4 separate regions of the Homo sapiens genome follow, and all the other regions are linked to region 1. The links are contacts of gene promoters, found by promoter capture Hi-C in human tissues and cell types (Jung and others, 2019). All regions are on one chromosome and are shown on one strand. Each heading gives the region's core, a stretch centred on a gene start or on the middle of the fragment in contact. The rest is flanking DNA. Distances are from core to core; before and after follow the strand shown.

The links. The method cuts DNA at HindIII sites, captures the fragments that hold promoters and counts their contacts. A contact is called where the count stands out against the background at its distance.
Region 2: a contact is called between a fragment that was not itself captured here and the fragment with the promoter of IRX1 in region 1, in 2 of the 25 tissues and cell types used here (H1 embryonic stem cells and dorsolateral prefrontal cortex).
Region 3: a contact is called between a fragment that was not itself captured here and the fragment with the promoter of IRX1 in region 1, in 1 of the 25 tissues and cell types used here (lymphoblastoid cells).
Region 4: a fragment that was not itself captured here is called in contact with the fragment with the promoter of IRX1 in region 1 in 1 of the 25 tissues and cell types used here (H1 embryonic stem cells).

Annotation. Positions count from the first base shown.
Region 1 is chr5:3,593,980-3,597,188 of GRCh38, reverse strand. IRX1 (iroquois homeobox 1) reads right to left here and starts at 1,357. Exons shown (of 4, transcript NM_024337.4): 1 at 808-1,357. The coding sequence starts at 1,083. RefSeq lists a silencer at 1,360-1,654. The HindIII fragment of the contact is 23,247 bases long and covers 1-3,209 here.
Region 2 is chr5:3,982,752-3,986,221 of GRCh38, reverse strand. No RefSeq gene overlaps it. Among named protein-coding and RNA genes, the nearest start is that of LINC02063, 150 kb to the left of the region's middle. The HindIII fragment of the contact is 4,989 bases long and covers 1-3,470 here.
Region 3 is chr5:3,305,236-3,308,313 of GRCh38, reverse strand. No RefSeq gene overlaps it. Among named protein-coding and RNA genes, the nearest start is that of LINC01377, 130 kb to the right of the region's middle. The HindIII fragment of the contact is 5,203 bases long and covers 1-3,078 here.
Region 4 is chr5:3,898,640-3,902,119 of GRCh38, reverse strand. No RefSeq gene overlaps it. Among named protein-coding and RNA genes, the nearest start is that of LINC02063, 240 kb to the left of the region's middle. The HindIII fragment of the contact is 3,030 bases long and covers 274-3,303 here.

The DNA.
Region 1 (3,209 bases), core at 108-2,607:
GACGGGAGACTAAGAGGACACCATTTGTTTTAAGCCAAGGGACACTGTTTTCTTTAATCCTCCATTATGTAACGCAGGAAGAAAAGTGCTTTTCTTTCTGTGCAAATGAAATGAAAACTTGGGCAACTTACAAAAGTAAAATCAAACACCGTTTCAGACACCAGCACATTACTGCAACTTAATTTTTGTTTAATCTCAAATTCGCACTCACGCCGTGGAGAGACCTCTCCATCCCTTTGGACCTCTATTGTTAAGATTATTTTGATTGACTCTACCAGGCTTAGAAGGGGTCTGTCTGGCAAACTCGGATACAACTATCTCGGAGCTGCTAAAGAGGGAGAAAACCAAGTTTTCCAGACTCGGTTCGAAAACTAAAGAGGCCGCGCGAGTGGAACCCGCGGCCAGGAAGGGAAGTCCTGCTACGCTACGCCGGGCCGACCTGCAGGAACCCCGTGGGCCTGCCCGGGCGCCCTGGCCGAGCCAGGCGAGTTTGCCCCCGACCTCCAGCGCGGGCACCGCTCCACGGGCCTGCTTCTGCGGCCTCTCTGAATTCACTCGCTACCCGCTCCCTGGCCCGGGCCTTCCGCTTTCCCAGGCCGAGATGGCCCAGCCGTCACCCGCCCGGCCTCCCAGCCCTCTTGCGTCCCCGGGGGCCGCGGCCTCGGCCACCGGGAACCTGCCCCCGGACCTTTCTAGTTCCTCTTCCGGACCAGGTCCACCCGTAGTCTCTCCCTCCCGGGCGACCCGCCACCCTTGCCCTGGCGCGGGTGAGACAGAGGAGAAGCGGGGGAGGCCGGGCGCACTCACCATCTGCGAGAAGAGGCTGAGATCCGCGGCGTAGGGCAGGAAGGCGCTGTAGTTGGGCGCGCCCGCGTACGGCCCCGCCGCCGCGTACATGCCCAGCACCGAGGTGACTGCAGCCGCGCCTGCCCCGCCGCCCAGCTCCGCGGCCCCCGGTCGGCCCGACGAGGCGGCGGCAGCCGCCGCAGCGGCCGCGGCCAGCACCCCCGGGCGCTCGCCGCCGTAGGCGCCCGGCCCCGCGGCGCTCAGGTACTGCGGGTAGCCCAGCTGCGGGAAGGACATGTCCGCGGACTCGGCGACCGCCGCAGCGGGCGAGTATTAAAGGCGCGGGGAGGGAGGCGGAGGCCGGCCGGAGGGGGTTGCAGGGGGCGCCGCGAGGGGTCTAGGGAGGAGCGGGCGGCCGGCCGGGCGCGCTCGGGCGGGCCGGGAGATGGAGGCCGGTCGCGGCTCCTCTGCCCGGTGCTCGCAGGCGCCCGGCTCCCGGCTGCGCCCGGATCCGCAATCGCGCGCCGACTGCGGCGGCCGCCCTCCGCTCGGCGGCGGGGCTTTCAGACACAATTTGAAGTTGATGCTTTGATTGGCATCCCCTTGAGCGCAGGCCCCGCCCCTGGCTCCCCTCCCGCCCCCTCCCTGCCTCCCGCCCGCCCTCGCCGGCCGCTCCCGCCCCTCCCGCGAGCACGTGGTGCCCCGTGCCGGCCCGGCCAGCTACTCTCGCGGTGGGCGCGCGCGTCGGGGCGGCGGGGTGTGGGCCCGGAGGCCGTGGGCTCCTTCCCGACCAGCCCCCGCAGCTGTCTGACAACCTGTCGACACGGGTTTACAGCTGTCTGACACCGGGTTTGCAGTTTCGCGGCCGAGGTGTGTCCCCTTTTTAACAAAAACAACTTGGCGCCTGCTTTTCTACTGTTTGGGCAGCGGGGAAGGGGCCGGCGGCCTGGACGCTGGTGACAGCGAGGGGGGAGCGGCCTCTCCCCCGAGTCCCGCGCGGCCGGGGCCTCCAGGGGACATCTTTGGCAGAAGTGCACCCGGACGCTCTCCGCGAGCCACTGAACCGGCGTGGCGTGACACCCCCGACTCCAGATGCGGGTTCCCGTGGGCCCCTACTGGGTAGTAACCGATCGTCTGCCAATGACCGGCCTCGCCGCCCTTGGGGAAGCGGGGAGCGGCCGAGCTCTGCGGGCTCTTTCAATTGTGCAAACTTTGAGCGAGGGCAAATCCCGCGGAGAAGTCGCCAGCTCGGGGGAAGCAGGCGCAGTCGGCGCCGCGGGTTCTCGGAGGGAGGGGTGGGGGAGACGCGGGGGGAGGGGCTTTCTCTTCACCCAGAAAGCCCCCTGGCAGCCGGAGGGAAACATCCCCCGCGCCCCCGCGAAGGGGGAAGACGGTGTGGCCTGGACGCCCGGTTTGTCCACCAGGTGTGCAGAGGCAGACAGGAAACTTGTGTGGAACGCGCGAACCCGAGTCGGCGCCGCCGCCAGACCGGCAACGGAGCGGCCTCTTGGGTCCAAGTCCCGCGTCCCTCTTCTCCCTGCGTCTCCCCTCTCCATCCTCAGCCTCGTCGGGCTACAGGACGCGGCCAGGCGCGGCGCACTTGAGATGGGCTCCGTTTCGCCGCGGCCCTGGCCGTGCGGCTCCCGGGAGAAGATGCCAAGTGCACGGGCCTCCTCGCCTCCCTGAGCCTGGGAAGGCGCTGGCAGGCCACTTCTGCGCCTCGTGGCTGGAGAGCTCCGGACGGTGCCGTGGGGAACCGGGTACCAGTCCCGGCTCCCGGGGCCACTTTGCGAACCACCTCCTACGCAGAGACGGGGCCGGGAGTTCACCCCGCTGCGGCTCTCCAGCACACCGGACTCCGCGGGAATTTCAGCAGCGCACTCTGGCGTCTTCTCGGCTTTAGGCCGGGTTGGGGCTACGGGATGAAGGCGGCCATCGGGCCAGAGTCGGCATGCTGTTCTGCTGGTGGTTTGAGCCACCCGTATCCTGGACACCGGCCAGGCGGTCCCTTCACCCCCTGCCTCGCTTCCCTCTCTTCACGGAGCCTCGAGGCCCAGGGACTTCAGCAGCATCAGGAGGGGCTCCGGTTTTCCGGGCCTGAGGACAGACACTGAGACATCGCCTATAATTAGCAACAATAATGCCCGTGATGGTAGTAATTACTAATAACCAGCTCCGACATCGGGCTTGATTTTTCCCTGCTCTGAGTCAGATTGTCTTGCTAGTCATGCTGCTTCCCGCGCTCAATTCGCCCCTCCACACTCCAGGATCCGCCTACAACCTCCAGGGTTCCTTTCCTGCTTTTACATAGATTCCGGGCTGGGTTTGTGGGGACGCCGAGGGTTGGTGGGGAGTGGATTCTTGGTGACACAAATCCGGGAAGCCCCTAACTGCAGCTTTTTCCTGTTCCCCAGCCTACCACC
Region 2 (3,470 bases), core at 868-3,367, 390 kb before region 1:
AGACAAGAACAAATCTGGAGGCATCACATTACTAGACTTCTAACAATTTTACAAGTCTATAGTCAATAAAACAGTATGGAATTGGCATACAAATAGGTACATAGACCAATGGAGCAGAATAGAGAACCCAAAAATAAAACTGAATACTAACAGCCAACTGAACTTCAACACAGGAAAAAATAAATAAATAAAGTGGGAAAAGGACACCCTATTCAACAAATGGTGCTGGGATAATTGGCAAGCCACGTGTAGGAGAATGAAACTGGATCCTCATTTCTCAGCTTATGAAAAACCAACTCAAGATGGATCAAAGACTTAAATCAAAGACCTGAAACCATAAAAATCCTAGAAGGTAACATCAGAAAAACCCTTCTAGACATTGGCTTAGGCAAAGATGTTGTGACCAAGAACCCAAAAGCAAATGCCTCAATCCTTCTTTTGAGGCTTGTGGCTTCTTCTTACATGAAGCTCCTGGGATCTGCTTCAATTCAATCAGGTAATAAGGGCAAAGGATCACATTATGTCAATATTTGAACCCAGCCAGTCTGTAAATTCCTATTTCTAAAGTGAACCATAATAATTTTCAACTTGTTTATAAAGCACACTGTGTATTTACTACTTTAGGAAGAATTATTGGAGTTTTAAGATGTTAACTAAGTATTACCCAAACCAGTTTTTTTTTTTTGTAAAATTCATGTGCATGGATAGCATGAATAAAAAACTAAAAGAGAGATAAACAATTTGAAAATGACTTCATAACTCTTATAAACTTGGCAAAATATAGTCATAGTATTCTCAATGCATATAAAATTAAAGATTTGAGCTACAAGTTAAGTGTGTCCAAAACTCAAAAGCAATTCAAATGTATACTTTTTAAATTGTGATATTAAAATAACCTTTTCTAGGCCCTTTACACCCACCAGGTCCTAGTAAATCAGAGGACAGATGGTGAGAACACTTAATAAGGAGCACCATTCACTCACCTCTCTCATAGGGCAGGAGTTCCGATAGATCATTAACCTGCATGATCATTAACCTGAATGTGCACAGTTCCCGTTCATAGGAAAAACCTTATTATTCACATTTTTGCATGAGGAAACAGACTTAGAGACATTAAGGAACTCAGATCCCAAGGTCTCCAGAACAAATCCCCAGCCTCCTGTGCCCCTTGTCCTTCACTGCCTGGGGCCACAGCTTGTCCTGTGCAGTTTTTTCTCCCTCCCTTCTTGAGGAAAGGTAAATTTGGGCTGATCTTACAATGAAACTTTTCCACAAAATTAAACTACTTCTACAGAAATTATTTATTTAACCTCCAACACATTTTGAGCACATCTTGATAAACTATAGATTATGTAAGAACAAATAGATTCTCATGCTGTCTTCACCAGGAGAAGCAACACCATATTGAAGTGGCCATGGAGTCACTAAATACAAGCAAAATGGAATCAAGGCATGGAAAACCAAATACAGTCTTCTCAGTGCATATTAAATATTTTGAAAACTATTTGTGAGGCTATTATAAAACATTAAAATAACATTAAATGCCACAAATGGCACAGTTTTATTTAGAAGATATAAGCATTAGATTAAAATAATCACTCAAATTTATGACATTAATTCAGTATCCAACAGTGGCAACTTCAGTGAAAAGAAAATCTGTTAAATATTTTAGAATTTTATAGACAAAATAATTAGTTAATTAGAGAGTGCACAGTCCTCCTGGTTTTCCTTAAACTTGACTAATTTAGCACTGGAAGTTTCATGTCCGAGCAAAGCGATATAGGAAGTCACCTTAGTTGATTGTGAGATAAATCTGAAAGACAAGTTAGATGCTCTTGTAAAAGACAGAGAGAGAGATTGTGTGTGTGTGTGTGTGTGTGTGTGTGTGTGTGTGTTTGTTGAGACTATCAGACACTCTTTGGAGAATGTGGTCTTTGCTCTGAATGGTGAAGAAAAATTAGACAAAGAGCTTAAGCTTGAGGAAGAAGGGGAATCAAGAACGAAGCACTACAAAAGTTCCAATTTTCCTCCACCTCAAGAGGACCACGCCATGCTTCACTCATTCCGGAAACATAAGCTTCTGTCCTCAGGATGCATAATTAAATTAACATCGGGACCATCTTTGCTTGGCACTGAAGGATCACACAGATGAGAAAGAAGTAATCCTCATTGTCTAAGGGTTTGTGATCTCTTTTAGTGAGTGGAGTGGTATGCCCTTTGCAAAGAGAAAGCTCTGTGTACCGATAATGTTAGCAGAAAGCATGAGTGCTTTGTTTCGAAGCACTCAATGGAGCACATCACTGCAGCCCGCAAGTCAAGGGTCATGAACAGCTCTTCCTGAAAGGGGCTTGAGTGACAGATACATAGAGGTTACCCAGGTCAAAAGTGGGGTGTGAAGATGGGAGGCTTTCTAACAGAAGAATTATCCGAGCAGAAAAGCTGTGGAAGGAAGCTATGGACTAGGAGGAAGAGCATGTGTGGATGCAGATTAGTGGTGGGAAGGGACCAGGAACAGGCAGCTCTCTCTTGCCAGGTGGCCTCAGTTGTGTTACTTAGAGAACAGTATGTGAATGTTTGAAAATATCACCAGTGAGACAGAAGGAGACATAGACACAGAATGTGTAAGGACGCTATAAAAGCTGATCAGTTCAGGCCGGGCGTGGTGGCTCACGCCTCTAATTCCAGCACTTAGGGAGTCTGAGGCGGGCGGATCACGAGGTCAGGAGATCAAGACCATCCTGGACAACATGGTGAAACCCCGTCTCTACTAAAACTACAAAAATTAGCTGGGTGTAATGGCGTGTGCCTGTAATACCAGCTACTTGGGAGGCTGAGCCAGGAGAATTGCTTGAACCAGGGAGGCGGAGGTTGCAGTGAGCCGAGATCATGCCACTGCAGCCTGGAGACAGAGTAAGACTTCGTCTGAAAAAAAAAAAAAAAAAAGCTGATAAGCTCCAAGTGGCCCCAGCTGGCCACTGCCACGTGTGGATAGAGCCTCCTTTTTGGCTGAGGAACTGCCTCCAGCTTTGCTAGACAAACTGCATGGACAAAATTAAATTCAGAGTGTGGTGTATATTGAGCATAGATGACACTCATGGCCAGAAGGCCCATTCTATGATGGGTGATTAGAGAGGAGGAAAAATAATGCTTTCTCAAACATGGAGGTCAGTGAAGCTGAGTAGGGATAATAGATGGAAAAAGTGCAATTCAAGTACCTACGTCTTCAGCAAAGGTGGGGCCTTTCAAACAACAAGAGGGCAACTGCGTGGGAGTTGACCAGGTCCAGACTGTGCATTTCAGACTCCTTTAAAAACATGTTTTGACCTGTAAATTACATTATCTATGGTCTATAGAGAGTAATTAGATTTAATTACAGCTCATTACATGATGCTCCTGAAGGTGTCCTTTAGAATGGTGATTTTCCAACAGGATTCTGCACTTTCCCCCAAATTTTTAGAGGCAAAAAAAAA
Region 3 (3,078 bases), core at 285-2,784, 290 kb after region 1:
TGGAACTCAGCCTCCTGTGTCTGCGACACTAAAGCCCTCAGCTCTAGAAGCCACCTCTTCCACACGCAGCTCACAGCATGGCTGTGTGCTTATTCAAGGCCTGCAGAGAAGTGTCATTCTCTTTGCAGAAGAGCCCAGACCCTCTTCTAGGGTTCTCACCTGATTAGGTCAGGCCCACCAAAGGTAATTTTCCTTTTAATTGATTCAAAGCTCACCTGATTTGTGACCTTAATTATAAATGCAAAATGTCTTCATCTTGGTCATATGTTCTGGGCTAAATTGTATATTCCCCACAAAATCTATATGCTGACGTCCTAACCCTCAATACCTCAGAATGTGAGTGGATTTGGAGGTGGATCCTTTAAAGAGGATATTACAGTTATCTGAGGCCATGTGGGGTGGGTTCTAATCCACTATGGCTGCTGTCCTTATACAAAGGACATATTTGGAGACAGACATACAAACAGGGAGAACGCCCCATGACAGTGAAGGCAGAGACTGGGGTGATGCTTCCACCAGCCCAGCAACAGCAAGAGTTGCCAGCGACTACCAGGAGCTGGAACAGAGGCCTGGAGCAGATTCAGAAGAGGAGGTCAGGACACAGACACAGAGGACACGGAGAGAAGACACTGCCTACATGCCCAGGAGAGAGGCCTCAGGAGGGAATGGCCATGCTGACCCCTCACCTCTGGCTTCAGCTCCAGCACCGTGAGACGACAAATCCCCATCGTCCAAGCCCCAGGCTGTGCGGCTGTGTTGTTACGGCAGCCTTGGCTGAGGAATGCATCCTACAAAGTCACCTAATCATCATGGGATCAAAATCCCATGCCATCCACAGGTCTGATCACACCCCAGGGGAAGGGTGTACTTGGGCCTGGACATCAGAGGCTGCAAATCTTAGGGCTCATCTCGAAGCTCCCGCTGCCTCACCCTCCATGTCTCTGAAGTGCCTGTGGGCTGCACCACTGGGCTACGCCAAGCCTGACATTCGAGGTGCCAGTCACCACCATGGGCCAAACCCCTTCTCCCCCTCCTCCTCCACCTGCAGATGTGTGCCATAGACTGTGACCAATAACCACTGCAGGTGAAGATCCCAAGGCACTTCCACAACAGATCCAGACATCGGAACAGATGCCTCTGCAGTGAGTGCTGGGGTGGAACTATGGCGGGTACTGCCTGGGGTTTTACCAATTGTAAAGTTAAGTCATAGGATGGTTAAACAACATTTTGCAAGACGATGTCGTCAGTTGGGGAATGCTGGGAAAGAGGAGACAGTCTCTAGGTGTGTTGCTGGAAGCCGTGGAGGAGTGGGCAGTAGCTACCTGTGTCACGTGTTACCTCTCAGCAAGCATGCTGAGGGACACACCACTTGTGCAGGGCACAGGACCCGGGACACCTTCCCCAGGTCAGATGCCAGGGCCTGTGGCCCTCCACACAACCCGAAAAGCATGGGATGCTGGAGATCTCACCATGACACTCAGGACACCTCCTGTAACAGCCAGTGTCCCCCAGGGCCCACTTAGTAACCTGCACATGTACCAGTGACTAAGATGTGTGGGCCTGAGGGTCACTGCAGCCCTGTGGGGAGAAGGCCTCTTCCCAAAGACATGGCAGAGCTGAGCTCCCCAGGCCCCCTGGAACCACAGGAGCCTGCAGATGCCCAGGAACTGCGGGGTGTGGTGAGCTGCATGGCGTTGCAGGTGCCAGGTGACCGGTGTCAGAGAAGAGCATTGGTCTTGCACGATAGTTGCCCTCCACACAAACTCAAGGCTCCCAGCGGGTCGTTGTCCTCTACAGGACCCCAAAGCCTCCCGCAGAGTCCACACTGAGAACAAACGTCTCCTGTTGGGAGGTGCTTTTCTCAGCCCTGGGGTGGTGCTTTCAAGCATCAGTATTTAGAGAATAACCTTTAAGGGCTATTCTCTGGCCAGTGTGGTTCCTTCACATGAACTGGAGTGGTGTTCACAGCCGAGGAGCGGGACCTGCGAGTGGGCAGCGTTCTGGACCCCCAGCTCCATGCTACTGAAGCAGGCCGGGCTCGTTCTCTGCCAGAACCCCCGATTGGGGATCCCCCAGAGCTGCTGTGGGTCCAGTTGGTCTCTCCCCAGCCCTCAGTCAGTAACTCCGAGGCTCCCAGAAGATCTAAGACAGGAGCGACCCCTGTAGAATTCGAAGACTCTATGTGCAGGCGGCAGGTGCTATCCTTGCTGTGGAAGCCTCCCTGGGAGCACCCTGATGGCGGGCAATTAAGAAGGGCCTCTGGTCTGGAGCCTCGTGAATACTTGGCACCTGTGTGTGCGGAGATAAACTGGGAGATTTATCTGCACGGGTGGGCAAAAGGCAGCCAATGGGCACTTGTTCTGTGAGCGCAGATACCACTGAGATAGCAGTGCTGGAAATAGGCAAATGAATATCTCCGCTCCCCCGCTGCGGGAGCCTCGGCCACTGCGGGAGAGCTCCGCGTCCTTCTGAACCAGGAGAAGCACGGGCGGCAGACGCTGGGGAACACGTGCAGGCTCAGAGTGCGGCTCTGGGGACGGCGATTTTCCAAGGAGAGTCAAGATGACCTTCCACTTGCTCACCGCCGCCAAACGAACCTTTCTAAAGCACCCCCATCACGGCAGCTGTCCTGGCCTGCAGCGGCTCCAGGAGAAACCTGGGATTCTGGCGCAGCGTGCACGGGTTCCCTGCCCACCCCCAGCCCCTCACCCACACTCTCCTCCAGGGAAACGCGGCCTGGGCCGCTCCGTGCCTGTCCTCACACCCGTGCGGTTACTCCTGCTCGCCCCAGCGCCCGAGGACCGCTGCCCCAACGCTAGTGAAATCACCCCTACGTCCCGTTAATCTCCAGCTCCTTCGAGATGTTTGTCCTGACTCTTCCACCTGTGTCTCCTGGACCAGGGCACACCACTCGCTCAGGTTTGTTTGTTTTAATCTCATTTTGGTTTTTTATCACACTGATTTATTTGCTTAAGTCTTATCTCCTTATCTAAATCATAAATATACTGTTGAGTTGTGAATTCTGTACAATATACCATGTTTTAGAATTCATTCGTATTCCCCCACAATGCTTGGTGT
Region 4 (3,480 bases), core at 539-3,038, 300 kb before region 1:
GAAAAATGTAGTCAGGCATGAGAGGTGCAAGAAAGTCTCCAAGAAATTATCCCCAGGCGGGTGAGTCACTCATGGACCACCTCTGAGCAAGGTCTTCCAAGGTCATCTGTGGCTCTTGGGATGCCTTAAGGTTGGCAGCCCTGCTAAGAGGGCCAGGGAGTTGGTCAAAATACAGGATGAGGAAGAACGTCTAAGAAGAAAAGCTACCATATCTTCCAAAAAGCCTGTGTGCAGCCCTTCAGAACACCCCTAGAGCTACATCTTAGAAGTTTGTGTCTTGCCCTTACTCAGTATGGGTATCAAATATCTGTGTTCCAAAAAGAATATGATAATCCCATCTTCAGGCAAAAATCCAGATTTAGTTCTCAAAATCCCAAGCAAGAAAACAATCTAGCCTCACAGAAACCCACCCATGTTGTAAAGGCAAAGAGTACCCGCCCCCTTCCAGGACGAAAACAACTTCCTCAAGTTTGGAAGTCTGATCCAATTCCAATGTCACTTCTTCCATGAAACGTTCCTTCGCCCCCTCCCCCAACTTAAAATAATATTTCTCTTTGTTTTCACAAAACTTTGTCCCTCTTCTCTGCGCCCTGCAATTCCATGTGCTTTCCCACTTCCTGTATTATAGCATGAGTTCTGAGGACAAGGACTATGATGCTCTCATATCTTCATCACCCTCCATTTGTAGCGTGTGGGAGCATTTGGTAAATGCTCACTTTTTTTTTTATTATACTTTAAGTTTTAGGGTACATGTGCACATTGTGCAGGTTAGTTACATATGTATACATGTGCCATGCTGGTGCGCTGCACCCACTAACTCGTCATCTAGCATTAGGTATATCTCCCAATGCTATCCCTCCATTCTTTGAAACCAACGAGAACAAAGACACAACATACCAGAATCTCTGGGACACATTCAAAGCAGTGTGTAGAGGGAAATTTATAGCACTAAATGCCCACAAGAAAAAGCAGGAAAGATCCAAAATTGACACCCTAACATCACAATTAAAAGAACTAGAAAAGCAAGAGCAAATACATTCAAAAGCTAGCAGAAGGCAAGAAATAACTAAAATCAGAGCAGAACTGAAGGAAATAGAGACACAAAAAACCCTTCAAAAAATTAATGAATCCAGGAGCTGGTTTTTTGAAAGGATCAACAAAATTGATAGACCACTAGCAAGGCTAATAAAGAAAAAAAGAGAGAAGAATCAAATAGACACAATAAAAAATGATAAAGGGGATATCACCACCGATCCCACAGAAATACAAACTACCATCAGAGAATACTACAAACACCTCTACGCAAATAAACTAGAAAATCTAGCAGAAATTGATAAATTCCTCAACACATACACTCTCCCAAGACTAAACCAGGAAGAAGTTGAATCTCTGAATAGACCAATAACAGGAGCTGAAATTGTGGCAATAATCAATAGTTTACCAACCAAAAAGAGTCCAGGACCAGATGGATTCACAGCCAAATTCTACCAGAGGTACAAGGAGGAACTGGTACCATTCCTTCTGAAACTATTCCAATCAATAGAAAAAGAGGGAATCCTCCCTAACTCATTTTATGAGGCCAGCATCATTCTGATACCAAAGCCGGGCAGAGACACAACCAAAAAAGAGAATTTTAGACCAATATCCTTGATGAACATTGATGCAAAAATCCTCAATAAAATACTGGCAAAACGAATCCAGCAGCACATCAAAAAGCTTCTCCACCATGATCAAGTGGGCTTCATCCCTGGGATGCAAGGCTGGTTCAATATACGCAAATGAATAAATGTAATCCAGCATATAAACAGAGCCAAAGACAAAAACCACATGATTATCTCAATAGATGCAGAAAAAGCCTTTGACAAAATTCAACAACTTCATGCTAAAAACTCTCAATAAATTAGGTATTGATGGGACGTATTTCAAAGTAATAAGAGCTATCTATGACAAACCCACAGCCAATATCATACTGAATGGGCAAAAACTGGAAGCATTCTCTTTGAAAACTGGCACAAGACAGGGATGCCCTCTCTCACCACTCCTATTCAACATAGTGTTGGAAGTTCTGGCCAGGGCAATTAGGCAGGAGAAGGAAATAAAGGGTATTCAATTAGGAAAAGAGGAAGTCAAATTGTCCCTGTTTCCAGATGACATGATTGTATATCTAGAAAACCCCATTGTCTCAGCCCAAAATCTCCTTAAGCTGATAAGCAACTTCAGCAAAGTCTCAGGATACAAAATCAATGTACAAAAATCACAAGCATTCTTATACACCAACAACAGACAAACAGAGAGCCAAATCATGAGTGAGCTCCCATTCACAATTGCTTCAAAGAGAATAAAATACCTAGGAATCCAACTTACAAGGGATGTGAAGGTAAATGCTCACTTAATTGAAAGTCTGAGTCTTAGGAGGAGATAGATGATCAGTGCTGAAATAAAAAAGAAGTATGCTGGATTCATAGCAGTGAAAATATTTTAAAAGGTGACTTGAGAGATTAAATAAGTAGACTCTTTCTGAATTTAATACTTGCTTGAAAATGTCTTTATTTTTCTCGTTCTGTACATCTTAGCAAAATGAAATGTTGCTGCAAGCACTTAATCAACAAATCATTTCTTGCTCTCTGACCATGGCTATTTGAACATCTGAAACTTTAATGGAGGCTTTGGTAATTTTTGTTTTCCAACCAACCGTTATAACTTCCTCAGGACGATTAAGGCAGTTTTTAGACAGCGGCTGAATTTTAACTCCCAGCATTTTGTGAGAGAAGCCTGAGGTCACATGAGGGTTCTACACGATCTAGGAAGCTTCGACATCTGGCCATAGTCACATGCTGGGTTAATCCAATTATATGGAAATGGTAGTTTTTAAAGAAAACAAAACTCATGCTGTGTTTTGGCAGAAAACTTAGTAGAGTAGATGAGAGGCTTCTTTTCAGAAATCACTGGTTCTGGTCATGTAAGTAATTGAGTTTACATAAACTGGTGTTTGGGAGGTGAACAGTTCAGTTGGCACTAGTTGCTATTTTACACAGGTTCCTCATGTAATTGGGGAGGGTACAAGCCGTCTGAGAGCACTCAAGCCGACCCTCGGGACTCTGATACTCCAGCTGTTGGTTGAGTGTCTTTGTTATCTTTTCTGCTGTGTCTCTCCTCCAAATGCTTAAGTGCTATTTACTTGAGACCACGTTCTGACTTATTTGATTTAGCTACATAGGGACAGCGCTTTAAGATCCAGCAACTTATCTTAGGGCAGAAGAGATTTTATCAACGTTAGGTGAAATTACTCCTGTAAATTTGCAGTTAGGCATCCTAACCAAATCAGAATGACCATCAAATTAAAGTTTCTGGAAGGCAGAGAAGCCAATCTGTTTCCCTCCAGTTTATTTAGTTCCTTTTGTTTTATCCATCATCATCATCATTGCGTATTTTCACAAGAGACAATGTTATTATTAACTTTTATATAAAGGATGAATCAAC